Regions from separate parts of the Homo sapiens genome. Here regions 2 and 3 are each linked to region 1. The links are contacts of gene promoters, found by promoter capture Hi-C in human tissues and cell types (Jung and others, 2019). All regions are on one chromosome and are shown on one strand. Each heading gives the region's core, a stretch centred on a gene start or on the middle of the fragment in contact. The rest is flanking DNA. Distances are from core to core; before and after follow the strand shown.

Region 1 (3,285 bases), core at 534-3,033:
AAATCAGAAGTGATGGGGAAGAGGCCCAGGGTTATTCGCTTCTGACAAGCAGCCAAAGTCATTCTGCTGTATACCAACTGTGAGTGCCACCAGCCTAGGGTTTTTACATCCCATTTCCCCCTTTATTCTCAGAGATGTATAGTTTGTGACTTTTATATTTTAATGCTCTTGTGTCCTTTATTGCAAGCTATATTTTTTTTAGCTATTTACAATTAAGATTAACAAGCAATTTCTAAGTATTCTACTTCTGAACTATACATTTGAAATAATACTTGTGACTGTATTTTAGGTTCTGTAGCACTTTTCCAAAAATGACATACATTTTCAAACAGATGGCTTTATTCATGCTTACCAAGTCCCTCTGAGGTACACTGGAAGAAGAAACTTTATTCCCTTCAAAAATAAAGGCTCAAGTCCAAGTCAAACTGAGTACTTATTAAACACCTTTAATGTTCAAGACCCAGGGAGGTACTTCTCTGAATATGGAAAGGTTAGTGTACCACTTAAACACAGTACACTGATTTACCATCTCTTGTTTGTACAGAATTAAATAGTCTAGACAATTTAATTATTTTAATTGATCAGTGTAAGTTGTTGTGAACAATTCAGAATAAAAGCTCCAAGTACAAGTACTTTCTTTCCACATTATTCTTCTCATCTTCAGTTCACATATGAAAACTAAAGCCTCCTAAACTTAAGATTATAAAGTACTGCAAAGTACAGTAGTCACTAACGTGAAAAAAAAAACTACTACTTTCCATGGCTGTCTATAGCTCAACTCTCTGAAAAATATACAGTCGGTTTGAAGTCTTTTGTGAAATCCCTTGTGAGACTCTACTGTTGACTGTGGTTAGAATACATTCAAAAGTATAATCAGATTGCATCATCACCATCACCTGCTCAGAGGCAAGTTGAAGAAACATGTGCTCATGAGGCTGAAGCTGGCTTATTGTACTACACTCTCATGTGGGCTTGCCAGAGAGATTAGTCACCATTTTGCAGCTGGTTTCAAATTCAGTTGCTGCGATACAAGTGCAGATGCAATGGCTTACCCTAATTATATTGCTCCAGTTTAATCTTTCCATTTGTAGCATACTATATACTGGATCAAATTCAAGACTCTGGATTGGTTTCAAATAGAAGAGATTTCAAAATCACACATTTGTTATCCTCTCCTAAAGCTTGCTGATCATATTTCATCATTGTATCTGCTAGATCTTCTGAATTCACCCTAAAGGTGTTTTTAGCTCTCTAAACCATCACTAAATCTTGATAATTAATAAAAATGCAGAAAAAAACAGTTCTTAAAGCTTTTTTTAACACAATAAAAGGAAAGTTATGTCATCTCCAAAAATACTCATATGTTTTTTAAAATTTCAATTTTCTTCCTCTTTGGAATTAAATATATGAGCAAATTCTAAGGAAATTAATTGTAATCAGTGGTTTCTAAACTTAACTGATGGTCAAAATCACTTGGGAAGCTTTAAAACACACATACATTTCCCCCACTTCACCCTGTACCTGTTGAGTCATAATTTAAAGAGGTTTCTTTTTAAATTAATCTAGAAGTTAAATAAAGCTAATGCTGGTATTGCTTCTGAGAGTCAGAAAGAAAAAAGAAAGGTTCCTGCCTATCTCATGCAGGTCTTTTTAACTGCCTGCTACTGTCCATATTTAATAAATGCCATCTGTCAAGAATGATGTCTATACAAAGAGATGATGTAATCAGAAGAACTTTAAAATAAAAGAAAAAATAAAATCCTAGCATCATCAGATCCACAGAAGCTACTCAGATAAGAGGCTCCAAGAGGACATTTTTGGATGTGAAAAACAATGAGAAGGAGGACAACACACATTTACAATCGTCTTAATTTTGTAAGTATCTGTTTGAATTTGTTGGATACATAGTTTTTTCCTTCAAAATAACTTAAAGGTATTATTTTGAAGACACACATAGTCAAGTTTAGATTATGCATTTTTACTCCGTTCTTATTCATTTGTTCCATGCTAGTGCTGGGAATATGGTGGTAAGAACAGACAACCCATGCCCTCACTATGCATACAGTATCATCGATGGCATTATAAAAATATCAAAATAGTTTTATGGTTAAAATAAACTATAAGAAATTCACATAAGTATATTTCAAAATACCCTTGGGGATAAAAATAACACATTCAAGTTACAGCTGACACATTATTTGGAAAAATCACTCAAGTTCTGCAATTTCTTCTTCCCAAATTAATACCAGTTTTACTTTCTTATCTGATCTAAAATTTATAACTTATTATACAACAATGTGAAGTTAATAAGTGAATGGTATATCACAGGTTATTCAACACACTGCTAAAATTAAAAATCATTGTGTCAATTCTAAAAACTAGATTTCCCTAAACTCTAAAAGCTACACAACTATGACAAACAGAATCTACAGCACTCTGTGACTCTTAATATTACAATTAAACATCAAGTTTATTAATAGAAAAGTTTGGTAAACAGATTTTCACATGACATAATGTGTCAATTTGATAATTATGGCCAATCATAAACTTAAGCATAAAAGGTGATGGTAAGATAAAAACAAAATCTTGAGGACAAAATTTCAAACTCATGCTCTCATCCAGGCCAGAGTTCCTGAACTATACAATGACAAACTAACTTCTTTGTTAAACTGCATTTTACTCTTTACAAATACAAGTAGTTTTCCAAATACTCCATGCTGTTGATGCCCCAAAGTGGGAAAAACAGATGAATTAAATAAATAGAGGCCATGTTAGCCAATGTGATTGAGACCATTTCTTCATTTAATAAAAAAATCAGTTAAAGTGGGAAATCATAAAAAATACATGCATACCTTAAACATTTTACTTCAAAACAATAAATCATATTCATTTAATAAAGTAAATACTTCTGAAGTAGCAGAGTTGTCTGAGGTAAATACCTGAGGTTATCGTCTCACGCCAAAGAAACTGAAGGACGAGGACACACAAGGAGTGAGTTTAAGAGTGGAGTTTTAATAGATGAAAGAAACAGGAGGCTGGGCGAGGTGGCTTATGCCTGTAATTCCAGCACTTTGGGATGCTGAGGCAGGCGGATCACTTGGGGTCAGGAGTTCGAGACCAGCCAGGCCAACGTGGTGAAACCCAGTCTCTACCAAAAATACGAAAATTAGCTGGGCGTGGTGGCGCATACCGGTAGTCCCAGCTACGCGGGAGGCAGAGGTGAGAGAATCGCTTGAACCCGGGAGACGGAGGTTGCAGTGAGCCAAGATCATGCCATTGCACTCC
Region 2 (3,285 bases), core at 198-2,697, 430 kb before region 1:
AGCAAGTCAGTTCACCTCTCCAAGTCTCCATTTTCCTGTCAGGAAAGCAGGAATACAAGGTTTAACTGGGTTTTGTGAGGATTAAGTGAGATACAGAAAACATAGAGCACAGTACCTGCCACAGGAGGAGCACTTAAGACATCTAATTCCCTTTAGAACTTTAAAAGTCATTGATAAGAAAGCAAGTTTTGAGTGTTTGGTATGAGCTTGGTACTGTGTAGAAGCACCCTCTCAGTTCATCCTCACAGCATCACAAGACGAATACTCGTCATTACCTCCATTGTTCTCATGGGTAAACCAAGACCTCCAAGGAGTGGAGACCATGTCCATGCCACAGCACTATGTGATCCATCTCCAAAGTCCATTTGTTTCCAGGACAGTATGGTGCCTTGTCATTATCAATTTTCTATCTTATTTTTAAAGAAGAATATTACCTATCTTGTTTATGATTGTGATTATTTTTCTCTAATTTTACTTTTTTATACAGTACAATTCAAGGCTACCTCTAGTTACAGAGTAATAGTGTTTCTTATATAGTGTCTTTATAAATTTGTAAGTGTACGGTGAGAGCAAGAGAGTACGTATGTGCTAAATGTCCATGAATTATGTGGCCAGTACACATCACTGTGGCCTCTGTTTTTATTTTCATGTACTTCTAATTGTATAAACACACACATACACATACCCAACTGAATTCAGCACTTTTTAAACATGCCCCACTATTTTGAACACTTTTATTTTTTTTATAGACAATTACTTGGCACCTTCATATGTATACAATATAATTAATGGAAAGTAGCATAAGAAAATTAGATGTCGTAATTAAAGGCTAGAGAAGATACTACTCAGTTGTCAAAGTTAAACATTAAATTTAGGTTATTAGAACTGGCTGCTGGCCTTGTGTCTGTGAAATTTGTTTTGCTAAGTAGTTTTGCATTCATTCAGATGAATGTTGCTGTTGCTTTTATTTTCCTAATACAGGAAGTGGTAACTCCCATTATTATATTAAGCTGTTTCCTTTCTAAGACACTTTTGCAAGCTCGATCTGCGAGTTTCCTCTGTCACGCTGATCTTACATACTACTGTGTGTGTGCTTCCTGAAACCATTTAAGCATGGATGGAAATCATTAGCATGTTAGTGCAGCCTTAACAGAGAAAAGTTTCTTAGTCTAAAAACATTCTTTCCTCCACAAAGAAACTTTCAGTCTTGTATGACTCTGTGTGCTGCTAATACACAGCAATTTTCATGAGCAATTTTAATGAGAGACTGAGTGGGTTTGGGGTTTAGAAACAGAACGTTTTTGGAGTTTTCATTTCTGGACGTGGATTCGTATGTGGCTCCCATCAGCTGGTAATTGGAAATAATGGTTCATCTGATGGCTGCCTCGTCTATACATAGTCAGAGAGGCCTCTTAGATTCATTTTGCCTGAGCAGGTGTTCCTGTCACACAGAAAATATTGTCACCCCTGACTTCTATGCGTTCTATAGGGTTAAGCACTTCAATGGAGTCGTGGACTTCAAAATAATTTGAAGAATTCACCTGCACCTTCTACCCCGAGTTGAGCGTTTGTGATCCAACGTCGGGGAGAGCAGTCTAGAGAATATCCTGTATCTGACAGTCACACCCAGGAACTAATTTGGGGGGATAAAGGGGGTTATGATTTTTTCCTCCATGATCTTTTAATGTTCCCCTTAGCCCCTTTATATCTTCAATGTATACCATCTTTTGTAAGAAACAAGTTCCATATGTGTTATTGTTTTTTTCCTTGCTATATCAAAGAGTATTTAGCTTCGTTTGGTCTACAAATTCTGTCTTGGTGATGTCCCTTGAAAATGTCCTGAAATTGATTATGGTGATGGTCGTCCCACTCTGTGAATACAGTATGTCCTCACTGTCATCAGTTTGTTCTTGGGAAACTGTGACTTTAAGCAAAACAATGTATAATGAAATCCATTTTACCATAGGCTGATTATACAATCAAGAGTTAAGTTCTTACGATGTAACAATTTATGGTCACAAAAACATCACCAAGCTTCTAAATAAAGACCCAAAACACTTCTAATATTTAACACTGAAATAAATCTAAGTTATATGTACATTTAGAAAAGTTTAAAAAAAAAGGTAAGGTAATTCTTTACCCAATTCTTGGTGGATCAGTGAGTGACAGGGAGTCAGAACAGTAGTGGGTTAAATTAAGGAATAAGCGTTGGTGAAGCAAAAATTCTAAGACACCGCCTGCCACCAGGCAGTTCAATCACAATCACAAATACCGTGGGCTCACCGGGTGCTTTTCTGTCACAGCGTTTATTGTCATGCTTCTGTATGATTATATACTTGAAGGATTTTTTATGATAAATTTTATTTATTCATTTGTTCATTTTCCAAACTGCTTATTCCAGTTCAGGGTGGTGGATGGTGGGAGCCTATCCCAGCAGCTCAGGACACAGGATGGGAACCAGTCCTAGACAGGATGCCACCCCGTAGCAGGTCGCACCGACACACACCCCCACGGTCATTCACACTGGGACCATGTAGAATCGCACATTCACCTGACTTGTGTAGCTTTGGGATATGGGAGGAAACTGGAGTGGAGCCAGGAGAAAACCCATTCAGACATGGGCAGAATGTGCAAACTCCACCCTGACAGTGGCCCCGAGCCAGGAAATCCATTTTTTTTTCTCATCAACATTATAACAAAATGACATTATTCAAGGACCTACTTACTGTGTACTGCAAACCATTGAACAGTTAGGTGAATTCTATGGTATTTGAATTATAGCTCAGTTAAGCTTGTGTGTGTGTGTGTGTGTGTGTGTGTGTGTGTGTGTGTGTGTTCCCCTTGGCTCAAAATTCTAATATTTAATAAACAAGTCCATGTGCTCAGTATCAATTTTGCTTGTGGTTTTATAAACCTTTTCAAATTACTCCCCTGAGCCTTTGAATTTCCTAGCTAAGGAGCTCTAGTTTTTTTAGTGTAACCTTATGTACATCCATTTATCAATCAACAAGTACATATTTAGCACCTGTCTTGAGCTGCAACAGCCAAATTGTTTTAGGAATAATAGTAATAGTAGGAAGAGAGGAGCAATTACTACAGGAATTATTAATAATAATTTTAAATAGTTGGAACTGCAGCCATTCCGTTGGGAGAAGCACAATAGTGACTTAACTGTGATTGTGGTGACAGGGAGCCAACAATTGAGTCCCTGCTAATGGGCCAACAGGGGAAGGGGTTGAAAAGGAGGAGTGAGTGGTTTACATTACAAAAGGATTGTCTGAGAGC
Region 3 (3,285 bases), core at 443-2,942, 390 kb before region 1:
GGGATGCCATCACAACCCCACCTACCCTTCCAGAGCCTCTGTAGAGCCGACGTGCTCCACAAGGACCTCTCCAAGTGCATCCCCCAGGTCTCCTGTGAGGAACCAGCCCTCACCTCTCCGTGACACTTCATCAGCTCCTGCCCTCCCTTCCTGCCTCTCTCCCATCTCATACAGCGACACTAGGATGGTGCTTGCCCTGGCCTCACAAGGACTGTGCTTTATGTATCTGCCTCTACCACTAGGTGCTATGACCCCAAAGAACAGTCTCCCTGTTTCTCCAAATCTCTGTCTCTCCGGCAGTCAGCACCCTGCAGTCACCTCGTCAGCAATGGATTAATGATTGGGGGAGTCAAGCTGCCCTTCATGGAATGTGGACTCAGTCCTGGTTTCATCCTGGGTCACATTTGCAGCTGTGAAAACCCTGCAACCACAGTAAGAAGATGAGGGACGAGGCACTGACTCGCTCCGTCCAGGCTAGAGGCCCAGAGAGCTTGGTGGGGGAAAGGGTGGGACAGCAAAGGGGGTGGGGTTCATCTATTTTGAATGGATTACTTTAAATACTAACAGGTGGCATTTAAAAGTTGCTCTTTGGGTGGAGGGGAGAGGATTGTGGTAGCTGGACAAGCTTCACTACAAGGACAAGGAAAGAATTGCACATGGAGGCATTTTCTCTCCATATTTTCTTGACCTTAAAAAAAACAAAAGATTCAATTCCCTTTTCTAACTGCAATCCACTTGGCCAGCATCTTGATCCCTTTTGATATGCGTGTTTTGATCCGGGCTCATGCAAAGCCGGTGGACCACCTTTTCAGTTTAAACAGCAGCAGCTGCTGCCTGATTCTCTTTTTAAGTGGCCTGCGTGCCTGCGGGGCCAAAGGGCTTCTTCCAGGACGCACCTCCCGGACCCTCCTCAGCCACCCAAGGACTGGCCCTGGTATGAAGAAGACAAAGGTACGCTACCCTCTTCCTGTACACTTCCTGTACCCTCTTCCTGTACACTCCCACATGTCCCTCATTTTCATTTCATGATGAGAGCCTGGTCTGAATCACAGTTGCACTGAACCCTTTGGGGCGATTTAGAGAGCACCTATTCCTGGAAAGCTTTCCTGCCAATCCAGGTGGGGTGGTCTGCCAGGCTCCCTTCCCTGTCCCCCAGCCAAGATTTAAAGAATATACAAATTTAAGGGAGGGAGCCAGAGAAAATTCTTTTTCCTTCTTTCTTCTTTCCCCAGCTGGCTTGGGCTTTTGGTGTACCTTATAGATTCATTTCCTTCAAAATGTAATTTTAGAAATATCAAGTTGATTTTTGAGCTCTGGGAAAGTGAGAAAAGCACCCGTCAGCTTCAGAATTAGAAATGCACCAACTTAGGACGAACCAGCACTTTTTGTCAGTGGTTTTTCCCAAAAAGACGTGATCTACTCAGAGGCGGCCCGAGGCGTCGGTGGGCCTGTAGGCAGGACTTATGCATGGTGCTATTATTACCAGGCAGGGGTCCTGATCCAGACCCCAAGAGAGGGTTCTTGGACCTCATGCACAAGAAAGAATTTGGGGCGAGTCCATAGAGTAAAGTGAGAACAAGTTTATTAATAAAGTAAAGGAGGCCAGGCGCAGTGGCTCACGCCTGTAATCCCAGCACTTTGGGAGGCTGAGGTGGGCAGATCACCTGAGATCAGGAGTTTGAGACCAGCCTGGCCAACGTGGTGAAATCCCGTCTCTACTAAAAGAAATTAGTTGGGCGTGGTGGCGGGCACCTGTAATCCCAGCTACTTAGGAGGCTAAGGCAGGAAAATTGCTTGAATCTGAGAGGCGCAGGTTGCAGTCAGCCATGATTGCTCCACTGCACTCCAGTCTGGGTGAAAGAGCAAAACTGCATCTCAAAAGAAAAAAAAAAAAAAAGAAAGTAAAGGAATAAGGAATGGCTACTCGAGTCATAGGCAGAGTAGTGGCATGGGCCGCTTGACTGAGTATACTTACAGTTATTTCCTGATTATATGCTAAACAAGGGGTGGATTATTCATGAGTTTTCTGGGAAAGGGGTGGAGATTCTCCTTTTTGGACTAATCACCTCTTTAAAGCCTCACCTCTTAATACTGTTGCAATGGCAATTAAATTTCCAACACATGAACTTTGGGGGATATATTCAAACCATAGTAGTCATGGTGGGAAATGGGCTGTGTGCCCAGCTTTTCAGGCACTGGAGTCTCACCCTCAAGGACCAAGAATAGAGAAAGTTCCTTAAGGCAGAATTGGGATGCTGTTACTAGAGAAAGAAAAAAAAATGGATGTTAGGCAGGAAAATACAAGACAGCCACTCTAGTTTCCAGTGGAGGACTTTCAGGAAATGCTTTTCCAGTCTTTCCAGAGGGCTATGAAACAGGGTTGTTAAAGAACTGCAGTGGTTTCCAAAAACCCCCCTATTAGGCGCCTCCCACCTGTGCCATGAGGCCACTCCCCAGCAGGCACTGGGGCTGGAAGCTTGGAGCTCTTAGTGGCCCATTGAGAATACTGACCTTCCTGCTGACTTCATGGAATCACAAAAGGAGTCCTAGAGCTTTTTGCTTCCAACCTGCTCATATCTATGTGAAGAAACTGAGGAGACCAAAGGGACGTGGAGAACTAGGTTTAAAGTTAAGGAAACCCAAGACGAGTAATCACATTCCTGTGGTTACTAGTCTTGGTTTTCCAGGACTGACTCCCAGGCCAATGCTTCTTAAGTGTTTGCTAGAAATTAAAAGTTGTAGAAAGCAATTCAAATGCAAAAACAGGGAAAACTCCTGTCCTTCATGACTGCTTTTATTTTCATTTTTCAGAAGTTAGTTATTAAGTACATCCTTTGGGGATAGCATCCAGGAGAAGCATTTAGGACAGTTGGTAAGTTTGCTCTGAAGCCAGACAAATCTGTGGCCAACTGGGCTCCGCCTGCTCTAAGTCATATACCCTCTCAAGCTTGTTTTCTCATCCATAAAATAGGAATAGTAACATTTCCTGCCACTTGGAGTCATTACAAGGATTGAGTTGATGTCCCCAAAGACTTTAGCATTGTACTTGCACACAGCAACACTCAAGTGTGGAGAAATGTGCCACCAAAGTTCACTCTCTTGGTAAAATGTTGGAAGGGGGAAGGGAGAGATTAGTTAAAGGGCACAAAATTATAGCTAGATAGAATAAGTTCTGGTATTCTATAGCACTGAAGGCTGACTGTAGTTAACAATAACATATACTTTAAAATAGTTAGAGGGAGGATATTGAATGTTCCCAATACAAAGAAATGATACATGTTTGAG

What was found. Contacts are between HindIII fragments. The study calls those that stand out against the background at their distance.
Region 2: a contact is called between a fragment that was not itself captured here and the fragment with the promoter of RPA3 in region 1, in 1 of the 25 tissues and cell types used here (H1 embryonic stem cells).
Region 3: a contact is called between a fragment that was not itself captured here and the fragment with the promoter of RPA3 in region 1, in 1 of the 25 tissues and cell types used here (spleen).

What each region holds. Positions count from the first base shown.
Region 1 is chr7:7,717,105-7,720,389 of GRCh38, reverse strand. It overlaps RPA3 (replication protein A3), which reads left to right and starts at 1,783. Exons shown (of 8, transcript NM_002947.5): 1 at 1,783-1,875. The region is part of intron 2 of UMAD1 (UBAP1-MVB12-associated (UMA) domain containing 1); the gene reads right to left. The HindIII fragment of the contact is 4,791 bases long and covers 513-3,285 here.
Region 2 is chr7:8,147,239-8,150,523 of GRCh38, reverse strand. All of the region lies in intron 8 of ICA1 (islet cell autoantigen 1), which reads left to right. Among named protein-coding and RNA genes, the nearest start is that of ICA1, 110 kb to the left of the region's middle. RefSeq lists an enhancer at 2,995-3,285. The HindIII fragment of the contact is 5,968 bases long and covers 1-3,285 here.
Region 3 is chr7:8,109,011-8,112,295 of GRCh38, reverse strand. No RefSeq gene overlaps it. Among named protein-coding and RNA genes, the nearest start is that of GLCCI1, 140 kb to the right of the region's middle. The HindIII fragment of the contact is 4,002 bases long and covers 1-3,285 here.